3 separate regions of the Homo sapiens genome follow, and regions 2 and 3 are each linked to region 1. The links are contacts of gene promoters, found by promoter capture Hi-C in blood cells and fetal thymus (Javierre and others, 2016). All regions are on one chromosome and are shown on one strand. Each heading gives the region's core, a stretch centred on a gene start or on the middle of the fragment in contact. The rest is flanking DNA. Distances are from core to core; before and after follow the strand shown. Region 1 holds the start of GPR141 (G protein-coupled receptor 141). Region 2 overlaps ELMO1 (engulfment and cell motility 1). Region 3 overlaps ELMO1 (engulfment and cell motility 1).

The links. Contacts are between HindIII fragments. The CHiCAGO score rates a contact against its expected background, and 5 or more counts as called.
Region 2: a contact is called between a fragment that was not itself captured here and the fragment with the promoter of GPR141 in region 1, in 1 of 17 cell types (neutrophils). The highest score is 5.9, in neutrophils.
Region 3: a fragment that was not itself captured here is called in contact with the fragment with the promoter of GPR141 in region 1 in 1 of 17 cell types (megakaryocytes); the score reaches 5.9 in megakaryocytes.

The regions. Positions count from the first base shown.
Region 1 is chr7:37,682,058-37,685,410 of GRCh38, reverse strand. It overlaps GPR141 (G protein-coupled receptor 141), which reads right to left and starts at 1,645. Exons shown (of 3, transcript NM_001381946.1): 1 at 1,508-1,645. The HindIII fragment of the contact is 1,961 bases long and covers 1,387-3,347 here.
Region 2 is chr7:37,347,334-37,350,689 of GRCh38, reverse strand. The region is part of intron 1 of ELMO1 (engulfment and cell motility 1); the gene reads left to right. Among named protein-coding and RNA genes, the nearest start is that of ELMO1, 100 kb to the left of the region's middle. The HindIII fragment of the contact is 4,249 bases long and covers 1-3,356 here.
Region 3 is chr7:37,239,680-37,242,773 of GRCh38, reverse strand. All of the region lies in intron 7 of ELMO1 (engulfment and cell motility 1), which reads left to right. Among named protein-coding and RNA genes, the nearest start is that of ELMO1, 210 kb to the left of the region's middle. The HindIII fragment of the contact is 1,205 bases long and covers 1,025-2,229 here.

The DNA.
Region 1 (3,353 bases), core at 396-2,895:
GGGAAGAAGGCAGGAAGGCAGGCAGGCAGGCAGGCAGGCAGGCAGGAAGGAAGGAGGGAGGGAGAGAAACACACACACGCACAAAAGGAAGAAAAGAAAAACACACACTTACATTTTTGCATGCAATTTCAGAGGATTGGTGTATCAATCTAAAGACCATCCAGGAACTCCCTTAGCTGAGCATCTCTTATCCAGTCTACAACTTCCATTTTATAATTGTTGAAAATCATTGCTAGAAGAATAGTTGGAAAATTGTGTCACCTAAGCCAAAGCTGGCTCACTTCTTGTTTTTATACAGCCTGTGAGCTACGAATGGTTTTTATAGTTTTAAATGGTTATGTAAGTACCAATATATTAGCCTCAGTTCTACCTCTTGGCTTGCAAAGCCTAAAATATTTACTATCAAGGCTTTTGTAGAAAAAGTTTGCCAACCCCTGGTCTGGAATCCTTAGACAATATTCCCCCAAATTATGCAGCCAATTACTAGAAAACAGAGGACTAGAATTCACACCACCTGATTCCTCATCCATTGGTCTTCCCATTACTTCTATTGACTGATTAAAATCCTAATTAACTGATTTAAACCCAATAAAACAGAAAACAAAGACATGTAATTCTGGAGTACTTAATAAGTAATTTCTCAGATAAGTAATTGTGCAGTTATGTAGAACGCTGAAGTCCAGAGAATTAAGTGACCTATCAAAAGTCATATAACAAATTTGTAAAAGAAACAAAATTAAATGCCTATATTCAGGTTAGGCATTACTGACTTATTGTTTAAAAACTTTGCATTATATTTCATTCCACATATTTGAAAAATATTACTTCTTGGAAGTAGAAAATACTGGTATAGAAAGTATTTTACTTAAAGTAAAATTATTTGAACAGATGTTGTTCTTTTTATTTATCTTATTTAAGAAGTTATTTTCAGATCCTTCCTGTTAAGTAGTACTTTAAAAGTGGGATGGAAAGAATTATAATTACCATTATTTCACATGTTATTTTGAATATACTTCTTTTAGAAATTTCTAAGTACTTGATTGCTTACAGATTGTTTCCTTCTATTGACTAGGGCTGCCTGAATAGTTTCAAACTCTATCTGAAAATAATGCAGTAATAGAGTTAAAGGATTTTCATAACAAAAGGAAATTAAGACATCACTTAAAAGATAAGCATTTGAATAATTATACACAAATTCAATAGTGCCAACTGCTCTAAAAAATTCTATGATATGTTTAGCTGGTTTTTTGACAGAGAGATTCTGAAATCATTTTTGTTCACATTTACCCATAAATATTAGGTTTTACTTTCAGAGCAGCATATCCTAAGCAGTAAGAATAGAACAATTCTTTCTATAAAGGAGGAGTTGTGGTCAGAGAATAAGCTTGCTTTTTAGAGCAGAACCATTTGAAGATTCTGAATTAGGACTATGCCAACAAATTAAGTGTGCTTTATTTCTATAGCACTTTCATTCATGTCTCCCCAAACCTAAGTCATCTGCACTTACCTTGAAAATCCAGATTTCTCAGTGATGGCTACAGAGATGGGCCACATGTCTGCCTTCCAAATAGGATTCTGTTTCAACAGCAGGGCAGCTGGGTCATTTCCATGCTCTGCATGCATTTGCAAAGGCTCTGGACAGCTCACCAAGCAAAAGGAAGTGAATGTGTTCTAAGTTCCTCAGAATGTCAACAGACCATAAAACCTCAAAACCATTTGAAACACAATAGTCTTGAAAAACCAAGCTCTTAAACATGAGTAGTCCAGGTTGCAAACTACAGAGAGGCCAATTGTCAAGAAATATTTATGAAGGATTGATGACTACGATGAATCAAGTTTTTAAAATGTTCTTCAAACTAAATTTTGTAGAGAATGGGGAACAAAGTGGTATTATCAAAAACAAAAAGGGAAGGTAAACTGTGTATTGTTCTTCTGGTGAAGGAATATGTGTAATATTTCCTTTCAGTAAGGAGAAAATTTCCAGAGTTGCTCTATACCTCACTGGTAACTTAGGGCTCCCACTTTTATAATTGTGTTAATTAGCTGTCACTGATAAATGGCATTGACTGGGATATGGCACTATAATTATGTCATTTAATTAGAATTAAGAGAGAAAATATTTAAAATCAGAGTGTGCTATAGGGGCAGGGGAGGGGAGTAAATCGTCACAGCTTAACTTTTTAGACTGTCAACATTATCTCCAGAAGAAGCTGCCCATACAGTCATAGAGATGCACTGCAAGTATTGAGAAAAAAAAACATCAGTTCCTCAAACTGCTTGAACTTTCCTACCATTTGATGACCACTCTATAAATTAGGATTTTATAAACTTTCTAATTATGTAAATCGGTGGTCCCCAACCTTTTTTGGCACCAGGGAAAGGTTTCATGGAAGACAATTTTTCCACAGACAGGGGTGGGGATGTTTTCTGGATGATTCAAGCACATTACATTTATTGCGCACTTTATTTCAATTGTTATTACATGATAATATATAATGAAATAATTATACAACTCATCATAATGTAGAATCAGTGGAAGCCCTGAGGTTGTTTTTCTGCAACTAGATGGTCCCATTTGGGGGTGATGGAAGACAATGATAGATCATCAGACATTAGATTCTCATAAGGAACACTGCAACCTAGATCCCTAGCATGGACAATTCAACAATAAGGTTCATGCTCCCATGAGAATCTAATGCCGCTGCTGATCTAACAGGAGGTGGAGCTCAGGCAGTAATGCAAGTGATGGGGAGCAGCTGTAAATATAGACGAAACTTTGCTGGCCCACTCGTGCACTGCTCCGCTCCTTCTGTACAGCCCAGTTCCTAACAGGCCACGAACCACTGCTGGTCTGTGGCCCAGGGGTTGAGAACTCCTGATGTAGACAGCATGTTAATATTATATAGAAATTGGTCAATTAAAAAGTACTAATTTATTAAATATCAACATTTTCAACATTCCCCTATTTTTAAAATCCATTGTGACATTTCACTATTTCAAAAAGAAATTTTAAAAGGCATCAAAATGATACTGGCCCTGGGTTCTTTCTATTTTAAGGTCCCTAAGTAGAATGATAACTTTGGTAATTTGGGGTGATTCCTGGTATTCTTTACAGTGCTAAAACACTCATTATTTTAGGCGAAATTTTTGCAGTTCTGTTTTCATCAGTATTCACATTTCTTACTCCAAACATAATGTTCTAAGTGCTTCCAACTTTGTTTCTTAGTTTGAAGAGAAGGCCTCTGCATCAGGAAACTCTTCAATTTCAGCAGATGTGCGTTCTTTCTGCCATATGAGTTAAAATGCTATCTGCTTCAAAATAACTCATGCTAGAGATATTTCAAGCTTTATTA
Region 2 (3,356 bases), core at 472-2,971, 330 kb after region 1:
TACAAATTTTGAGGGGGACACAATTCACCTGTAACAGTTCTCATACTAAAGAGGCCTCTATCAACCTGAGAGGATTTAAGGATTTGAAGGAAGTCATTTAAACTAGTTAAGATTTAGTATCTTCATTAATTTACTGCAAATAATAACACCTGTCACTCAGGGCTGTGAAGAAGAGTGAGTAAAGTGCGTGTCCACGGTGCCCAGCCCCATGCCTGCTCTAGGCGCCTGTCTGCCACTCCTTCTGGCAGCTGTCCCCTAGCCTTCATGATGTCAATGCCAGACACTGGGAAAGCAAAGACTTTTCTCTGCAAGTTTCCATTATATTGCAAGCCAACCGTAGCTAATAGCACATTTCCCCACCTGTCAAGTAAATGGGCTGAATTGTTGCTGAGATTAGCATACATGGCTAGCGTGTACAGAAAATGAAATACTGAGCCTCCACACTGGATTCCATTCTCTGTTTATTCTCTTTCTGCTGAGTGCTTGCATGTTCTGTTCTGAACACACCGTGTTCCCTCATTTCTGAAGCCACAAACTTCCTCTTAGGCCCCGGGCTGTCTTCAGAATGGCCATCAGGTCCCTGATACGGGAACCTGAAATGACACCCCCACCATATACCCATCCATCCAGACCCTCCAGTGTAGGGCAGGTGGGGGGACATGTGCCCACCACTGCTGCTCCCATGGGAAACAAAGACTGGCTTCAGCAAACCTGGACACTCATACATCCTGAATAATGTCAGCTGACCACACCACCGACTTCATGTATTCCTTGACCTAGACACTAAAGGTATTGAGACAATTTCAGTCTGTTTGGCATAAGAAGGATGGTAGCACAAAGAAGAGAAGAGCAAAACTTTTACCCAAAGCCTATTTCGGTGGCCCCTTCTGAGGTTCAGTGTACCATGCAGGGCGGTGTTCTCAAAAGTGAAGACTAGGCCAGGTGTGGTGGCTCACGCCTATAATCCCAGCACTTGGGGAGGCCGAGGTGGGCAGATCACCTGAGGTCAGGAGTTCGAGACCAGCCTGGCCAACATGGTGAAACCCCATCTCTACTAAAAATACAAAAATTAGCCACGCAAGGTGGTGCCTGCTTGTAATCCCAACTACTCGGGAGGCTGAGGCAGGAGAATCACTTGAACCCGGGGGGCGGAGGTTACAGTGAGCTGAGATTGTGCCACTGCACTCCAGCCTGGGTGACAGAGTGAGACTTCATCTCAAAAAAAGAAAAAGAAAAAAAAAGTGAAGACTAGAGGGCTCCAGGAAGACAGCAGTGCCAAGAGGGAAGGGCTGCTTTCAGTGGGTGATCCTCCTGAAGCCCTTTCCCTTTCTGCCTAACCTAATGCAAGGGGAAAATGTGGTCTATGTCTTTTTCTATCAGAGACAACTCAACATTAAAAATATGAGATGAACAGCTCCCTTTCCACTATCCCCATCATCATTATAAACCCATTATCCATCATCAGTAGATAATGACTTAGCGGGACAGAGGACAGCTTTTCTGGTGAGGAAGGAAGGGGCTGAGGAGTGGAAGCAGATCGTTTCTCCAGCTGTTTGGTGTTTCTCTCCCATTGATCTGCCCTGGCCTCCACTGGCCCATCTGTTGGGCTTGTGAGTGCAGTAGGGGAGGGGACACACGGTTCACCAGGGCAAGTGTGTTCGTTTCCCCAACACACAGCTTCTACAGGAATGGCCATACAGGCTTAATTTTTTTCTCAGTAGGGTTTACTGTGCAACAGAAAGACTACAAAGAGCATTAAAAGGTTCAAAGCCATTGCAGTCACCCAAAACTAAAAAACTATATGGGAAATTCAGAAAAAACAACAAAAAGTGATCAGGTATTTGGGACCTTTGTGGAACCGAAAGAATTAATTAAGCTGTATGGAAAAACCTGTAGAGATGTAACAGATCTTTAAGAGACTACAGCAAGAGGCATGTTGAACTTGGGGCATAGAACAATGTGTAGAGAGATGAGTTTCTAGGTGGGAGTCAAAGCGATTTCTGTCTGTCGTCTTCAAAATGCCACCCAACCTACGGAGACATTTAGTGGAAGAGTGGGCTTGTTCACGGGTTATAGAGTCAGATGTTACTGCTATACAGACTTCAGTACCTAACTCTAGAAGAAGTGATTCCTCTTTATTTAATCCACTCAACTATAAACACACCACTTAACATGCATATCGAGGTGATAGAATCTTAATATTAAACATGGAACAATTCCCATATTTTTGGAATGGAATAAAGTCAAGCCAGCAGGCAAGCAGGAACGGTATAGCATTCTCTGCCCATTCTTTACCCACCACCTGGGATTTGATAGTGACTTTGGAAGGCATGATGATTAGAATGTCTAGCCACCTGCCTAGACTTCCCTTTTGTTTCTCCCTTTAATGGTTCTTAAATTTTAGTTTGTATAAGAATTATTGTACCCGGCTGTCTACACAACTTCTTGTAGCTGGTATTTTACTGGGCAATTTAAGTAATACTAGGTTATCTACTTTGGTAATTTTGATAACACTAGGCTCAGTACTGCTGGTAGCTCTAATGAGATGTTCATTGAGGAGGGGATGCATTCATACAACAGCTATGTATTAAAATGCCTGCCTGCCGCGGCCCTGAGTCTGTAACTGTGAATGCGATGTGGACCTTGCCCTTAGAGTACTCCAGATGTAGTGGGGAGAAGTTGACAAAGGGAGTCTAGTAACCCCAGAGTTATGCTGGGGGAAGCATAGGACACCAGGATGCTGACTTTGTTGGCTGAAGATTTTAGAATGTATTTCCTTCTCAGTTATGCCTCACCAAGAGGAGTTGGGCTTGTGTGCTGATCTTTCCTGGAGAGCCTGATGAGACCATGTGCCTTGTGTCCAGTTCAAGGATGGGATAGGTTGCCCTGATCATCGGTAATCTGCCTAGAGGATTTGCTAGCTTACCGCCTGTATTAGTCCGTTTGCATGCTGCTAATAAAGACATACGGGAGATTGGGTAATTTATAAAGGAAAAAAAGGGTTTACATGGACTCAGTTTCATGTGGATGGGAGGCCTCACCATCATGGCAGAAGGCTCTTACATGGCGGCAGACAGGAGAGAATGAGAACCAAGTGAGAGGGTGTTCCCCTTATAAAGCCATCAGATCTCTTGAGGCTTATTCATTATAAGAATAAGAATAAGAATAAGAATACCATAAGAATAGTACCGTAAGAATAGTATGGGGGAAAACTTCCCCTGTAATTCAGTTATCTCCCACCGGGTCCCTTCTACAACATGTGAAAATTTGTCGAGACTGAGGGGAAGGGACTGTTGACCTCTAGAGGGTGGAGGCCAGGTATGCTGCCAGTCATCCTGCAATGCTCGGGGCAGCTC
Region 3 (3,094 bases), core at 378-2,877, 440 kb after region 1:
GACGAGAAGCTCAGAGAGTAGGAGACTCCACATCCACATGTAAACCCTGTCGCAGTCCACTGCTGATCACTGAAGTGCAAATGCACACTTTAATGGTAAAAACAGCAACTTAAAGATCTGAGCAAAGATGTCAGCTGTCACTCACTTCAGAATTTAGATTTTTACTTCCTGCTAGAACAAAAATTATCACTCTTCAGAGGAACAAAACTGATATCTGAATATTGACAGTGTTTTGTTCACAATATCCAGTATATAATAAAAATGTGCTAGGTATGTAAGGAAATAGGAAAAGACGACCTATAGTTAAGAAAAAATGTAGGTAGTAAAAACTGGCCCTGAGATGACCCAGATGTTGGAATTAGCAGATGAAGGTTTTTTAAAAACTTTTATAAATATGTTAAAAACTAAAGAAAAGTATGAGTGTAATGAATGCACAGATGGGGAGTCTTAATAGAGAAATTGAAACCATAAAAATAACCAGATGTCAGTTATAAAATTGAAAAGCACAATAAAGTGAAAATTTTACTGTATGAGGTTGAAGATGTCAGAAGAAGAGATAGTAGCCTTGAAGATGTATCAGTGTAAGTTACCTAATCTGAAAAGTTGATAAAATGAATAATGAGTACTTGACCTGTGAGATAATAAGTTATCTGAAATACATTTAATTGGAGTCCCAAAAGGAGAGGAAAAAGAATGGGGAAGGCAAATATTTGAGGAAATAATTACAGAAGAAAATAATGATGGAGATATATGAAGCAAGTTCTTCACACTGGAGAGACATGATAGTAGATAGATACTCAGATCTGTAGGAAAATATGAAGAACAACAGAAACTAAATATGTGGGTAATATAAAAAGACAAAATGTAGTTTTACTTTCCTTTAAATTTCTTTAAAAGGCTGTAACTATATAAAGCAAAAATTATAATACTGTTTGGTAGGGTTTATGACATATGTTGATGCAATATGTATGACAATGAGAGCACAAAGGATGGAGGTATAAGAGCAACTACACTACAGCAAGCTTCCTAGTGTATAATCTTCCGTTTAAGTAGACATTAATATACTAATGGTGCACATTGTAATACACAGAGTCACAACTAAAAACAGTGCAAGGAAGCATAGGCCAAAACACAAAGGAGGGATTAAATCAGACTACTAAAAAAATTTGATTAATTCAAAAGAAGGTAAGGAAAGAGAAGTAGAATAAAATATAGTTAAGACAAACAGAAAACAAGTTGGTTGACTTCAATCTAATCATATCAATACATTAAATGTAAATAGACTAAGCAGCTCAATGAAAAGGTTTAGATTGTCAGATGAAATTTTTTAAAAAGCATGGCCCAGCTCTATGCTGTTTATAAGAGATGTACTATAAAGACAAGGGCACATGTACGTTGAAAATAAAAGGATGGAAAAACATATACCATGCAAATGCTAATAATAATAAAACTGAATGGTTTTATTATCAGGAAAGATAAGACTTGAAAGCAATATGTTATCAGAGTTAAAGAGGGATAATTAGTAATAAAAATGGTCGCCTCATTAAGAAGATTTAATCCTCCTTTTTATTTTAAATGTGTATGCACCTAAAAATTTTAAATGTGTATGCACATTTAAAATTATTATACATGTGTATAATAAAGTTTTAAAATACGTGAAGCAAACACTGACTACTAAGGAGAAAAAGAGGCAAACCCATCAGCATAGTTGATGATTTTAAGACCAGTCTTTCCTAACTGGTATGAAAACTAGGCAAAATGTTAAGGATATAGATGATTTGATCAACACTATCAAAGGTCTTGCCTTAATTGTCATTTATAAAGCATCAGACTCAATAACAGCAAAATATACATTATTTTCAAATGCACATGGAATGTTCATCAAAATAGTCCATAGTAAGGCTCAAGAATTTTCAAATGATTAAAATTACACAGATTATGTTCTTTGATCACAAGGAAATTAAATTAGAAGTCGGTAACAATAAAATAGCCGAATAGCCTCGGATGTTTGGAAATTAGAAAACACTCTTTCATACTATCAAAGAGTCAAGGAATAACTCAGTTGAAATTATGAAATATTTTAACTGAATGGTAATGAAAATACAACATACCCAAATTTGTGAATGCAGCTGAAGCTGTGCTTAGGGGGAAATTTGTAGCATTAAATATCTATGTTGAAAAGGAAGGATGGTTTAAAAAAAAATGGTCTAAGTTTTTACTTAAGAAGCTTTAAAAAATGTGAATTAAGTAGAAAAAAAGAATAATAAGAATACTAACCAATGAAATAGGAAACAGGCAAATAATACAGAAAATTAAAGCCAAATATTTATTAGGAAAAAAAAGAAAAGAGAAATCCAAATATCAACACCAGGGATAAAAGAGGGAATATCACTACAAATCATACTGACATTAGAAATAAAATAAAAGAATATTGCAAATAATTTTACATTAATAAATTTAATGTTTTAGCACTTGGGGAGGCCAAGGCAGGTGGATCACTTGAGCCCAGCAGTTCAAGACCAGCCTGGGTAACATGGCAAAAACCTATCTCTACAACAAAATTCAAAAATTAGCTGGGTGTGACGCCTTGTGGCTGTAGTCCCAGCTACTTGGTAGGCTGAGTTAGGGGATTGCTTGAGCTAGGGAGGTGGAGGTTGCAGTGAGCCAAGATCATGCCACTGCACTTCAGCCTGGGCAACAGAGTGAGACTCTGTCTCAAAAAAAAAAAAGAAAAAAAAAAAGAAAGAAAATTAAGGATGAAATAGACAAATGCCATGGAAAACAGATTTACCAAATGTGTTAGTCATGGAAATGCATGGCTTTGATCTCCTTTCAGGAAGAACTTGCTAGTCAGCCAAGAAGAGTGCAGTTACCTGATAGTTTTCAGTTATCACATGTTCCAGATTCATAGCAGCTTTCAGTACTCTCCAAAGGCAGCATTTAGTTATTGAACATGGTGGGGATACCAGAGCCTGGTCATTTCTACCCATTATGGGATTCCTCTAAGAGGCACTGTTTATTCTGCAGCGTTCCACTGAGTTGGCTGAGACATTTTCAGATCTGCATTTGCTTCTTCCCCTTCCCTTCGCAGGCA